Regions from separate parts of the Homo sapiens genome. Here region 2 is linked to region 1. The links are contacts of gene promoters, found by promoter capture Hi-C in blood cells and fetal thymus (Javierre and others, 2016). All regions are on one chromosome and are shown on one strand. The core of a region is centred on a gene start or on the middle of the fragment in contact, and the rest is flanking DNA. Distances in the headings are between cores, read along the strand shown.

Region 1 (5,965 bases), core at 1,831-4,330:
ATTACAGGCACCTGCCACCACACCTGGCTAATTTTTTTTTTGTATTTTTAGTAGAGACGGGGTTTCACCATGTTGACCATGCTGGTCTCGAACTCCTGACCTCAGGTGATCCAACCGCCTCAGCCTCCCAAAGTGCTGGGGTTACAGGCAGGAGCCACCGGGCCCAGCATCCTTCCTTTTTAAGGCTGTATAATACTGTATTTATAGACTGCATTTCACTTTTCCATTCATCTGTTGATGAACACTTGGGTCACTGATGCTCCTATTAACATGAGTGTCCGGATAACTCTGAGAGAGTCTGCTTTCAATTCTTTGGGGTTGCTGGATCCTACAGTAATTCTGTTCTTATTTTTTCAGGAAATATGATACAGTTTTCCACAGTGGCTGAACCATTTAACATTTATACGTCACTAGGATACAAGGGTTCCAGTTTCTCTACCTTCTCATCAACACTTGTTTTGAATTTTTTTTTTTTTGTAGTTACCATCTTAGTGGATGTGAAGGATTATCTCATTGTAGTTGTGATCTGTATTTCCCTAATGGTTAGTGACGTTGAGCCTCTTTTTATGTGCTTATTGGCTATGGACCATTTGTATATCTTTGGAGAAATGTCTATTCTAGTCCTTTTCTCATTGTTATAAGATTGTTTTGTTATTGAGTTTTAGGCATTCCCTGTAATCTGGATTTTAATCCCTGTGAGATACATGCTTTGCAAATATTTTCTCCCATTCTGTTGGTTGACTTTTTACTCTTTTGATATCGTCTTTGTTTTTGAGACAGAGTCTCGCTCTGTCACCCAGGCTGGAGTGTAGCGGTGTGATCTCAGCTTGCTGCAGCCTCCGCCTCCCGAGCAGCTGGGATTACAGGTGTCTGCCACCACGCCTGGCTAATTTTTGTATTTTTAGTAGGGACAGGGTTTCACCATGTGGGCCATGGGTCTCAAACTCCTGGCCTCAAGTGATCCACCTGCTGCGGCCTCCCAAAGTGCTGGGATTACAGGCATGAACCACCGCACCTGGCTGATACTGTCTTTTGATGCACAAAATTTTAAAATTTTTATAAAGTCCAGTTTGTCTATTTTTTTCTTTTGTCTGTGTCATGTCATATTCAAGAAATAATCCAGACCAAATCTGTGTCTGGAAGCTTCTGCCCTACATTTTCTCCTAGGAGTTTTATACTTTGGGCCTTCCATTTAGATCTTCTTCAATCCATTTTGCATTAATTTTTGTTTATGGTATTAAGGGTCCAAGTTTATTCTTTTGCATGTGACCATAGATGGTATGTAACCTTTGCTAATGGTTTGTAATTATCTGAAAGGTATATTAGCTCAGATACAATGATATTGCGTTTGTCATCATCTCCTTATGTGTAAAGTGGTATTCCCAGGTGCACATATGCTCATGAGTTCTAGATCTTGGGGAACTGAATCTTGGTGTTCAAAAATTCTTAGTCCATTTAGTGCTTTCTAGCTTGAGTGTTTTTCAATGCTGATATTTTATACTATTAATACTTTTTTGGGTAAGAATTTGCCAGGCTTTTTCTTCTTCTGTTTTACTTCTCTGTGTATTTTCTAGGATTCTCTTATAAACAGCATATAGCAGGATTTGTATTTATCCAATGTGAGTCTATATATTAGTGAGCAATTTTATTTCATTCATATGTGTTAAGATTATATTTAGGCTGGGCGCAGTGGCTCAAGCCTATAATCCCAGCACTTTGGGAGGCTGAGGCAGGTGGATCACCTGAGGTCAGGAGTTCGAGACCAGCCTGGCCAACATGGTGAAACCCCATCTCTACTAAAAATACAAAAAAAAAAAATTAGCCGGGCATGGTGGCAGGTGCCTGTAATCCCAGCTACTTGGGAGGACGAGGCAGGAGAATCATTTGAACCTGGGAGGCAGAGGTTGCAGTGAGCTGAGGTCATACCATTGCATTCTAGTCTGGGCAACAAGAGTGAAACTCTATCTCAAAATACATATCTATATATATTTGGTATTATTTTTGCCACCTGTCTTATTTTGTCTACCATATATTTCTACTTCATTTCCTGTCTTTTGTTGAATTGCAATGATTATCTGAAGGGTTTATAATACTGGGAACGTTCACTGCTCTGTTTCTGTCTGAGTTGTCTGCAGATGCTAACCTATAGTAAATCTAACTTTTTCCTTATATACTGTAATAAGAAGGCATATACCGGCCGGGCACGGTGGCTCATGCCTGTAATCCCAGCACTTTGGGAGGCCGAGGCGGGTGGATCACGAGGTCAGGAGATCGAGACCATCCTGGCGAACACAGTAAAACCCCATCTCTACTAAAAATACAAAAAAATTAGCCGGGTGTGGTGGCAGGCACCTGTAGTCCCAGCTACTCAGGAGGCTGAGGCAGGAGAATGACGTGAACCCGGGAGGCAGAGCTTGCAGTGAGCCGAGATTGCGCTACTGCACTCCAGCCTGGGCATCAGAGCGAGACTCTGTCTCAAAAAAAAAAAAAAAAAAGAAGGCATATACCACTAAACGATAAAAAAAAATTTAAATTTGCTTTTATGTCCTCTTCCTTTATTTTCATCTTCCTGAATGTGATCATCTGTAATTTTAATATCCGTTCATTTTTTCATTATCAAAATTGGATTAGACTATACTAAGGATGGGAAGGTCTACAGAGCAAACAAACTCATAGAATGCTGGTAGGAATGTCAGTAATTATATACACAAGGGAAAACCGTTGAGTGTTATGTAGCAAACATGGTGACCTGTGTTTGCTGTTTGACCTATAATTTATAAATCTAGAGAAATGTGTGCTTATATACACCAAACTACACAAAAACACTTGTTCCTGGAAGCATCATTTATGTCAGACAAAAACAAGACACATAAGTGGCAGTCAACTCTACCATTCACATGCATTTGTTTGGAAAAAGATGAAGCTTCTTCCCTAGATGATGTTTGGTGCAAGCTACGCATGATGATATCAATAATTTTGAGCTGCTTTCAGCTGCTGAAGCTTAACTCTGTAATCATGTCATTCTTCTCCAGGTATCATTTATTCTTTATTTTTGAGGATCTTTCTTTTCCCTCTGGAGACACCTCAGTTCACAATCCTGGGGCGATATGGCAGAATCTTTTTTTTCGGATTTTGGCTTGTTGTGGTATCTGAAGGAGCTCAGAAAGGAAGAGTTTTGGAAATTTAAGGAGCTCCTCAAACAACCTTTGGAGAAATTTGAACTCAAGCCAATCCCCTGGGCTGAGCTGAAGAAGGCCTCCAAAGAAGATGTAGCAAAGCTGCTGGACAAACATTACCCAGGAAAGCAGGCATGGGAGGTAACACTGAACCTGTTTCTACAGATCAATAGGAAAGATCTCTGGACAAAGGCTCAGGAAGAGATGAGAAGTAAGTGCTGGATGATGGGGCGAGGACCCATGGGGGAAGCCTGGGAACAAGGTGATAGCATTGTTAAATGAGTGGCCACCCCCTCCATCAGATGAGAATGTGTGTGGGTCAAGGTGAGAGTTGAAGGTAGGAAGAGTTGCAGGCCAGGGCTGTTCATATGTGGGCCAGCGATGAACTGGGGACAGATGGCGTCCTGATACCAACTGTTCACCTATGGAGTGTCTTCCCATTTTTCCACCCCAAGTGGAGTCGTTGTTATAGGAGATGAGTGGCCAGTTAGTGTCTGCATTGCCAGGTCTACTGAGATGGAATTCTAGTATGGTAGTTGCCTATCTTTTTTTTTTTTTTTTTTTTTTTTTTAGAGAAAGGGTCTTGCCATGTTGCTCAGGCTGGTCTTGAACTCCCAGGCTCAAGTGATCCACCTGCCTAGGCATCCCAAAGTGCTGTGATTACAGGAGTGAGCCACCATGCCTAACTGCCTGTCCTTTTTGACCAGACATGTACCAAGGAGTAGGTAGAATCTTAAGACAATCAGACAGCGTATGTCCCGGGTACTACAGGAAGCATTCTTGCGAGCTTGTTTGGAGGTTCTAGTAGGGGAGCACAGCTTCTCTTCTGCCCGCGATGGAAGGACCTTCCTCTATGGGCAAAGGTTGTCATCGTCTTTGACCCAGGGGAGACTTTCAGGACGGACGCATATGGAGCAGTGAGGGAGGAAGTGGACACCCACCCAGCTGGCCACATCAGCCGAATTAGCCCTGGGGCGACCAATGGGGTGACAGACATCACAGCCAGGTTGTCCTCACGTCCTGGAAGCATTCTTTCTGCATAATGTCTTTTCATTCTTATCACAACCCAGGAAAGGTTTACAAGTGAGAAAACTGGACAAAACAGTGTTCCCATGTGTTACATGACTTTTCCAAAAGTGACAGATCTGACTCCGAACCAGTTCTGCTGGACTCATTGATGGGGTCTACACCCTCCTCTCGGGGGATACTTAGGAAAAACTAAATATATTCCCTATTAGGTATCTAGTAATTAGCATTTGTTTCTGATGATTGTTATCTTCTCCCTTTACTTTTGAGTTCCATCAACTTCTGTTACGTTTACTTCTGTTTTGTTCATGTTTCTTCTTTGTGTTGGTAATTCTAATTTGAGACCTTATTTCGTATCCCCACATGCTTGAGGGTATTTTATTTGGTTTGGAGTTGCTTGCTGTGTTAGTTTTTTGTTTTTTTTTTTGTTTTTGTTTTATTTTTTTGAGACGGAGTCTTGCTCTGTTGCCCAGGTTGGAGGGCAGTGACATGATCTCGGTTCACTGCAACTTCTGCCTCCCAGGTTCAAGCGATTCTCCTTCCTCAGCTTCCCGAGTAGCTGGGATTACAGGCATGCACCACCACGCCCAGCTAATTTTTGTATTTTTAGTAGAGACGGGGTATCACCATGTTGGTCAGGCTGGTCTCAAACTCCTGACCTCAGATGATCCTCCTGCCTGGGCTTCCCAAAGTGCTGTGATTACAGGTGTGTGCCAGTTTTCTTTATCTGTGTGGTTCGTGTCTTTGACTTTTCTGCTGATTAATGTTCTATGTTGGCAGATGAAAAAATGACCGAGTCAGTGTCTGAACTGAGAGTTTCTCACTTGGGACACTGAGGTCCTAAATGTTATAAAAATCTCTAAGACATGACATGACTTTTTTCTTTTTTGAGACGGAGTCTCGCTCTGTCGCCCAGGCTGGAGTGCAGTGGCGCGATCTCAGCTCACTGCAAGCTCTGCCTCCCGGGTTCCCACCATTCTCCTGCCTCAGCCTCCCAGGTAGCTGGGACTACAGGCGCCTGCCACCACGCCCAGATAATTTTTTGTATTTTTAGTAGAGATGGGGTCTCACCGTGTTAGCCAGGATGGTCTCGATCTCCTGACCTCATGATCCACCCACCTCAGCCTCCCAAAGTGCTGGGATTACAGGCGTGAATCATCAGTTTTAAATAACCTTGCTTATGAATTTTGTCTCAAAAAAAAACCTTGGAGGTCAGCAAATGTTTACTATGGGCAAATATAGAAAGTGAATAATATAATGATAAATCCATTCAATTAAATAGCATAGGGTTTTGCCAGGCGTGGTGGCTCACACCCGTAATCCCAGCACTTTGGGAGGCTGAGGTGGGCGGATCACCTAAGGTCAGGAGTTCGAGACCAGCCTGGCCAACATGGTGAGACACTCTATCTACTAAAAATACAAAAATTACCCAGGCGTGGTGGTGCACGCCTGTAATCCCAGCTACTCGGGAGGCTGAGGCACGAGAATCACTAGAACCCGGGAGGTGGAAGTTGCAGTGAGCCACAATCACACCACTGCACTTTAGCCTGGGCCACAGAGTGATGAGACTCTGTCTAAAAAAAAAAATTTTTTAATAAATAGCATAGTGTTTTGTGATGAAAAATGTGCATGAATTTAGAAAGATGTCCATAATATATTGTTCAGTCAAAAACCATGTTTGAAAATAGTATATACAGTATAATTCTACTGTAGAGAGAAAAATCGGGCAGAAGAAAAATGTAGAGTAATACAGACACAGATCA
Region 2 (5,836 bases), core at 1,406-3,905, 2.1 Mb after region 1:
AGGCCATTTCTTTCTGAAGGCTGGGGTTTGGGTATGGGTTCTCATTGAACAAGATGTTCAGATCTTCCAGTTGCTTCTTAGTGAACATGGTTCGTTTCCTGTGTGAATGCATCTGGTCCTTGCCTTGAAAGAGGAGGAAAAAGACACAAATGGGAAATGCTAACAACTCCATTCTCAAAAGCCTGAGCTTTCCTTTCCTTTCCACTGAGGTACAACGTGATGATCAAGTGACTGAGGTTCTGTCACCGAGGCTGGAGTGCAGTGGCACAATCTCAGCTCACTGCAACCTCCACCTCCTGAGTTCAAGCGATTCTCCTGCCTCAGCCTCCCGAGTAGCTGGGATTACAGGCGCACGCCACCATGCCCGGATAATTTTTGTATTTCTAGCAGAGACAGGGTTTCACCATGTTGGCTAGGCTGGTCTCGAACTCCTGACCTCAGGTGATCCACCCGCCTCGGCCTCCCAAAGTGTTGGGATTACATGCGTGAGCCACTGTGCCCGGCCGTGACTGAGGTTCTTAGATATGGAGACACTGCTGGCCGGGGTCGTGCCTCAGGCTGCAGTCCCAGTACTGTGGGAGGCTGAAGCGGGAGGACAACTTGATCTGCCTTTTGTCCTTGTTTTTCCAAGCCTCATTTGTCATTTTCATAGGAAAAGGTTGTTCCTTTCCCCCTTGGTTCCTCCATCCTTTTTTTCTGTTATCATTTAAATATGGGATCCCTTGCTCACGCCTGTAATCCCAGCACTTTGGGAGGCCAGGGCGGGCAGATCATATCAGGTCATGAGTTTGAGACCAGCCTGGCCAGCATGGTGAAACCCCATCTCTATTAAAAACACAAAAATTTGGCCGGGCACAGTGGCTCATGCCTGTAATCCCAGCACTTTGGGAGGCCAAGGCGGGCGGATCATGAGGTCAAGAGATCAAGACCATTCTGGCTAACATGGTGAAACCCTGTCTCTACTAAAAGTACAAAAATTAGCTGGGCGTGATGGTGCACGCCTGTAGTCCCAGCTACTCGGGAGGCTGAGGCAGGAGAATCGCTTGAACCTCAGAGGCAGAGGCTGTGGTGAGCCGAGATTATGCCACTGCACTCCAGCCTGAGACAGAGGGAGACCCTGTCTCAAGAAAATAATAAATAAATAAATAAATAAATACGTAAATAAGGGATCGCTTGTGCCTTACCTCTTGGGTTCTATTTTCTTTGTGTAGAAATAGGCAACTCAATCCAAGGTGAAATGGATGGACATGGTTTTATTCTTATCATTTATTCAATGTTCATTAAGTATATTCTTTTAGGAATATAGCAAGGAAATAAGCAGAAAAATAACATCACTGCTGTCACGGATGTCACCTTTTACTTTCTTTTTCTTGAGACAGTGTACTGCTGTGTTGCCCAGTGGCATGATCACAGCTCACTTCAGCCTCAACCTCCCCAGGCTCAAGCGATCCTCTCACCTCAGCCTCCCGAGTAGCTGGAACTACACAACACTGACATGCCCGGCTAATTTTTGTATTTTTTGTAGAGACAACGTCTTGTTTTGTTGCCCAGGCTGGTCTTGAACTCCTGGGCTGAAGCGATCTGCCCACCTCGGCCTCCCAAAGTGCTGGGATTACAGGCATGAGCCACCGCATGCCTCGCTCTAAAAGATCTGAATCGCATCATGCCTGAAAATGGTTTGGCAGCAGCTCCAGAGTCTAGTAAGTGCTCATGAACATGAGATTTCCAGCTTGGCTAAGCCTATATTCTATCTAGGACCTAATCATCCTCATAGGAATCAGATTCCCCTGTGCTCAAGAACAAGCATCGGGGTGGGAAGAATTAGGACACAACTACGAGGGAGAAGATTTCGGATTTGAAGGCAGAAACAGGCTTCCCTGCATTTGCCTGTGCTGTCAGATGACAGCCGCGGCCGGGCACCGAGGCTCATGCCTGTAATCCCAGCACTTTGGGAGGCCGAGGCCAGCCAATCACATGAGGTCAGGGGCTTGAGACCAACCTAGCTAACATGGTGAAACCCCATCTCTATAAAGATACAAAACTTGGGCCGGGTGCAGTGGCTCACGCCTGTCACCCCAGCACTTTGGGAGGCTGAGCCAGACGGATCACAAGGTCAGGAGTTCGAGACCAGCCTGGTCAATATGGTGAAACCCCCGGCTCTACTAAAAATACAAAAAAAAAAAAAATTAGCCAGGTGTGGTGGCGTGTGCCTGTCATCCCAGCTACTCGGGAGGCTGAGGCAGGAGAATTGCTTGAACCTGGGAGGTGGAGGTTGCAGTGAGCCGAAATCGTGCCACTGCACTCCAGCCTGAGCGACAGAGTGAGACTGTCTCAAAAGACAAACAAAACAAAACAAAACAACAACAACAAAAACGATGACAGCCTCTGTGGGAAGTCCCTGCCACCCACGTGGACGAAGCACCAGCTTCGGCCGCCTGGTCCCTCTGCCTTTTCCCGCCGCCAGCTGCTTTCCACTTCTTCACGTGTCTTTGCTTCGGTTCTCATTTTTTCTGGCTTACCTTTACGAAGATCCTCTGAGCCTGGCATCTTCTAATCCAGATGTGCGCCTGGGTTCAGGTCCAGGGATAAGAACTAGCAAAGATCAAATCCGGATTTAAGTAGCTTCCTCCACAGCCACACCCGACTCCCACCTCCTCCACCTTTCTCTGCCCTATCTGCCTCCAATATGATCCCTCGGTCCTCCAGAGCCCCCTGGATTTCTCCCAATACTGTCATTTTATCTAATATTGATTGAGCGGAGACCAACGACTCAAAGGCGAGTCCACAAACCAGCCCCACTAACACTCCTGGGAGTTGTTAAAATGCAGAATCCTGGCCCACTCCAGACTTCCTGAGCAGAAGCTGCAATTTCTTTTCTTTTTTTCTTTTTCTTTGAGACAGAGTCCCACTCTGTCACCCAGGCTGGAGCGCAATGACACCATCTTGGCTCACTGCAGCCTCTGCCTCCCAGGTTCAAGGGATTCTCATGTCTCAGCCTCCCGAGTAGCTGAGATCACAGGCCTGTGCCACCACTCCTGACTAATTTTTGTATTTTTAGTAGAGACGGAGTTTCCGCCATGTTGGCCAGGCTGGTCTTGAACTCCTGCCCTCAACGTTTCTGACTCGGTCTGGGGTGGGATCTGATGATTTCCATATCTAACAAGCACCCAGGTGACCAGGCTCCGTAATGGGGACCGGGAATGTGATTGTGAATAATGAAGTCCAGGTTTAAACCCTAAAGGGGCTTTCAGGCAACTTATATATTCTTTAGTGGCTAATATATGCTTGGCATTGTTCTGCATATCCTGATTTAGTTAACTCACTCAGAAATCATCTCATTTTATTTATTTATTTATTTATTTAGAGATGGAGTCTCACTCTGTCACCCAGGCTGGAGTGCAGTGGCACGATCTCGGCTCACAGCAACCTCCGCCTCTCAGGTTCAAGCAATTCTCCTGCCTCAGCCTTCCCAGTAGCTGGGATTACAGGCACCCACCACCAAGCCTGGCTAATTACAGGTGGCTCACACCTGTAATCCCAGCACTTTGGGAGGCTGAGGCAGGCGGATCACCTGAGGTCAGGAGTTCGAGACCAGCCTGGCCAACATGGCGAAACCCCATCTCTACTAAAAATACGAAAATTAGCTGGGTGTGGTGGTGGGCACCTGTAATCCCAGCTACTCAGGAGGCTGAGGCAGGAGAATTGCTTGAACCCAGGAGGCAGAGGTTGCAGTGAGCTGAGATCGCACCACTGCACTCCAGCCTGGGTGACAGGAGTGAGACTCCATCTCAAAAAAATAAAAGAAAAAGCTGCAACACCTTTCAGATGCCCAGGCTCACACCATGTATACCTTTTATCTTGACGACAAGGGCAGTTTGACTTCAGGTTCACAGAAGTGGCAGTTTTTCTTGCCATTCCATCCATTTGAATCTCAGTTCTGCACATCTCTACTTGTGACAGTGGTTAGCCTTTGCATAAATGAGCTTGTAGCTACTTTTTTTTTTCTTTTTGAGACAGGGTCTTGCTATGTCTCAAAAAACACAGCTGACTGCAGCCTCGACCTACTGGGCTCAAGTGATCCTCCTACATTTGCCCCCAAGTAGCTGTGACTACAAAGGCCTAGGCCCAGCCTGGAGTGCAGTGGCAAAATCATAGCTCAATGCAGCCTTAACCTCCTGGGCCTAGGTGAGCCTCTCACCTAAGCCTCCTGAGTAACTGGGACTACAGGTGCACACTACCATACCCAGCTAATTTTTGCATTTTTTGTAGAGAAGGGATTTTGGCTAGGCTAGTCTCAAAGTCTTAGGCACAAGCCATCCTCCCACCTCAGCCTCCCAAAGTGCTGGGATTAGTAAGAGGCAGTCTGTGTTGCTCAGGCTGGAGGGCAATTCACAAGCTGATTCCACTACTGATCAGCATGAAAGTTTTTTTTTTTTTTTTTGAGATGGAGTCTCACTCTGTCGCCCAGGTTAGAGTGCAGTGGCGTGATCCCGGCTCACTGCAACCTCTGCCTCCTGGGTTCAAGCAACTCTCCTGCCTCAGCCTCCCAAATAGCTGGGATTATAGGCACATGCCACCATGCCCAGCTAATTTTTTTTTTTGTATTTTTAGTAGAGACAGGGTTTCACCATGTTGGCCAGACTGGTCTCAAACTCCTGACCTCAGGTGATCCATCTGCCTTGGCCTCCCAAAGTGCTGGGATTACATGTGTGAGCCACTGTGCCCAGCCAGCATGAAAATTTTGACCTGCTCCATTTTCAACCTAGACCATTTCCCCACTTCTTAGGCAACCTGGTGGGAGGTCACCATATTGATGCCGAACTTAGTGTGGATGCCCAATTGGCAGAGCACATTACAGCCTAGAACTCCTGGGTTCAAGCCATCCTCCCGCCTCAGCCTCCCAAAGTGCTGGGATTACAGGTGTGAGCCACTGCACCCGGCCTGATGAACAGTATATCTTTAGAGGTGAATAAGACATACCAAGCAACAATTTTAAACCACATTTTTATCTTGTGATAGTGTCAGAAACCAATTTAAAAAGAGCCTGTAATCTGCCGTCTGTTTCTCTGGATTTATCTTTTCCAGGTATTTCATTAAAAAAAAAAAATCATAGGCCGGACACAGTGGCTCACACCTGTAATCCCAGCAGTTTGGGAGGCCAAGAAGGGAGGATCGCTTGAGCCCAGGAGACCAGCTTTTCAAAAACTAAAATAAAATTACATTATATAATATGTAACCTTTTGTGTGCTGGCTTCTTTTACTGAGCATGTTGTTTTCAAGGTTTATCCTCATGGTATAATGTGTCGGTATCTCATTCCTCTTTTTTTTTTTTTTTTTTGAGACAGAGTCTTGCTCTGTTGCCCAGGCTGGAGTGCAGTGGCAGGATCTCAGCTCACTGCAACTTCTCTGCCTCCTAAATTCAAGTGATTCTCATGCCTCAGTCTCCTGAGTAGGTGGGATTACAGGTGTGCACTAACACGCCTGGCTAATTTTCGTATTTTTAGTAGAGACCTGGTTTCACCATGTTGGCCAGGCTGGTCTCAAACTCCTGGCCTCAAGTGATCTGCCCGCCTCGGCCTCCCAAAGTGCTGAGATTACTGGTGTGAGCCACTGCGCCAAGCCCCTTTTACAGCTGAATTATACTCCATTGTATGGATAAACCATATTGTTTAATCCATTCATTTGTGGATGGACAGGCCGGGAGGAGGAGGGAGTGGGGAATACCTGCTTATGGGACTTTATTTTAGAGTTAGGAAAGTGTTTTGGGGCCAGGCATGGTGGCTCACATCTGTAATCCCAGCACTTGAGAGGCCGAGGCGGGTGGATCACCTGAGGT

The links. The method cuts DNA at HindIII sites, captures the fragments that hold promoters and counts their contacts. A CHiCAGO score of 5 or more calls a contact.
Region 2: a contact is called between the fragment with the promoter of DPRX here and the fragment with the promoter of NLRP9 in region 1, in 1 of 17 cell types (monocytes). The highest score is 5.8, in monocytes.

The regions. Positions count from the first base shown.
Region 1 is chr19:55,735,517-55,741,481 of GRCh38, reverse strand. It overlaps NLRP9 (NLR family pyrin domain containing 9), which reads left to right and starts at 3,080. Exons shown (of 9, transcript NM_176820.4): 1 at 3,080-3,387. The coding sequence starts at 3,108. It also overlaps the pseudogene RN7SKP109. The HindIII fragment of the contact is 10,494 bases long and covers 3,003-5,965 here.
Region 2 is chr19:53,628,818-53,634,653 of GRCh38, reverse strand. It overlaps DPRX (divergent-paired related homeobox), which reads right to left and starts at 2,655. Exons shown (of 3, transcript NM_001012728.2): 1 at 2,520-2,655; 2 at 1-123. The coding sequence starts at 2,547. It also overlaps the pseudogene RN7SL317P. The HindIII fragment of the contact is 17,175 bases long and covers 1-5,836 here.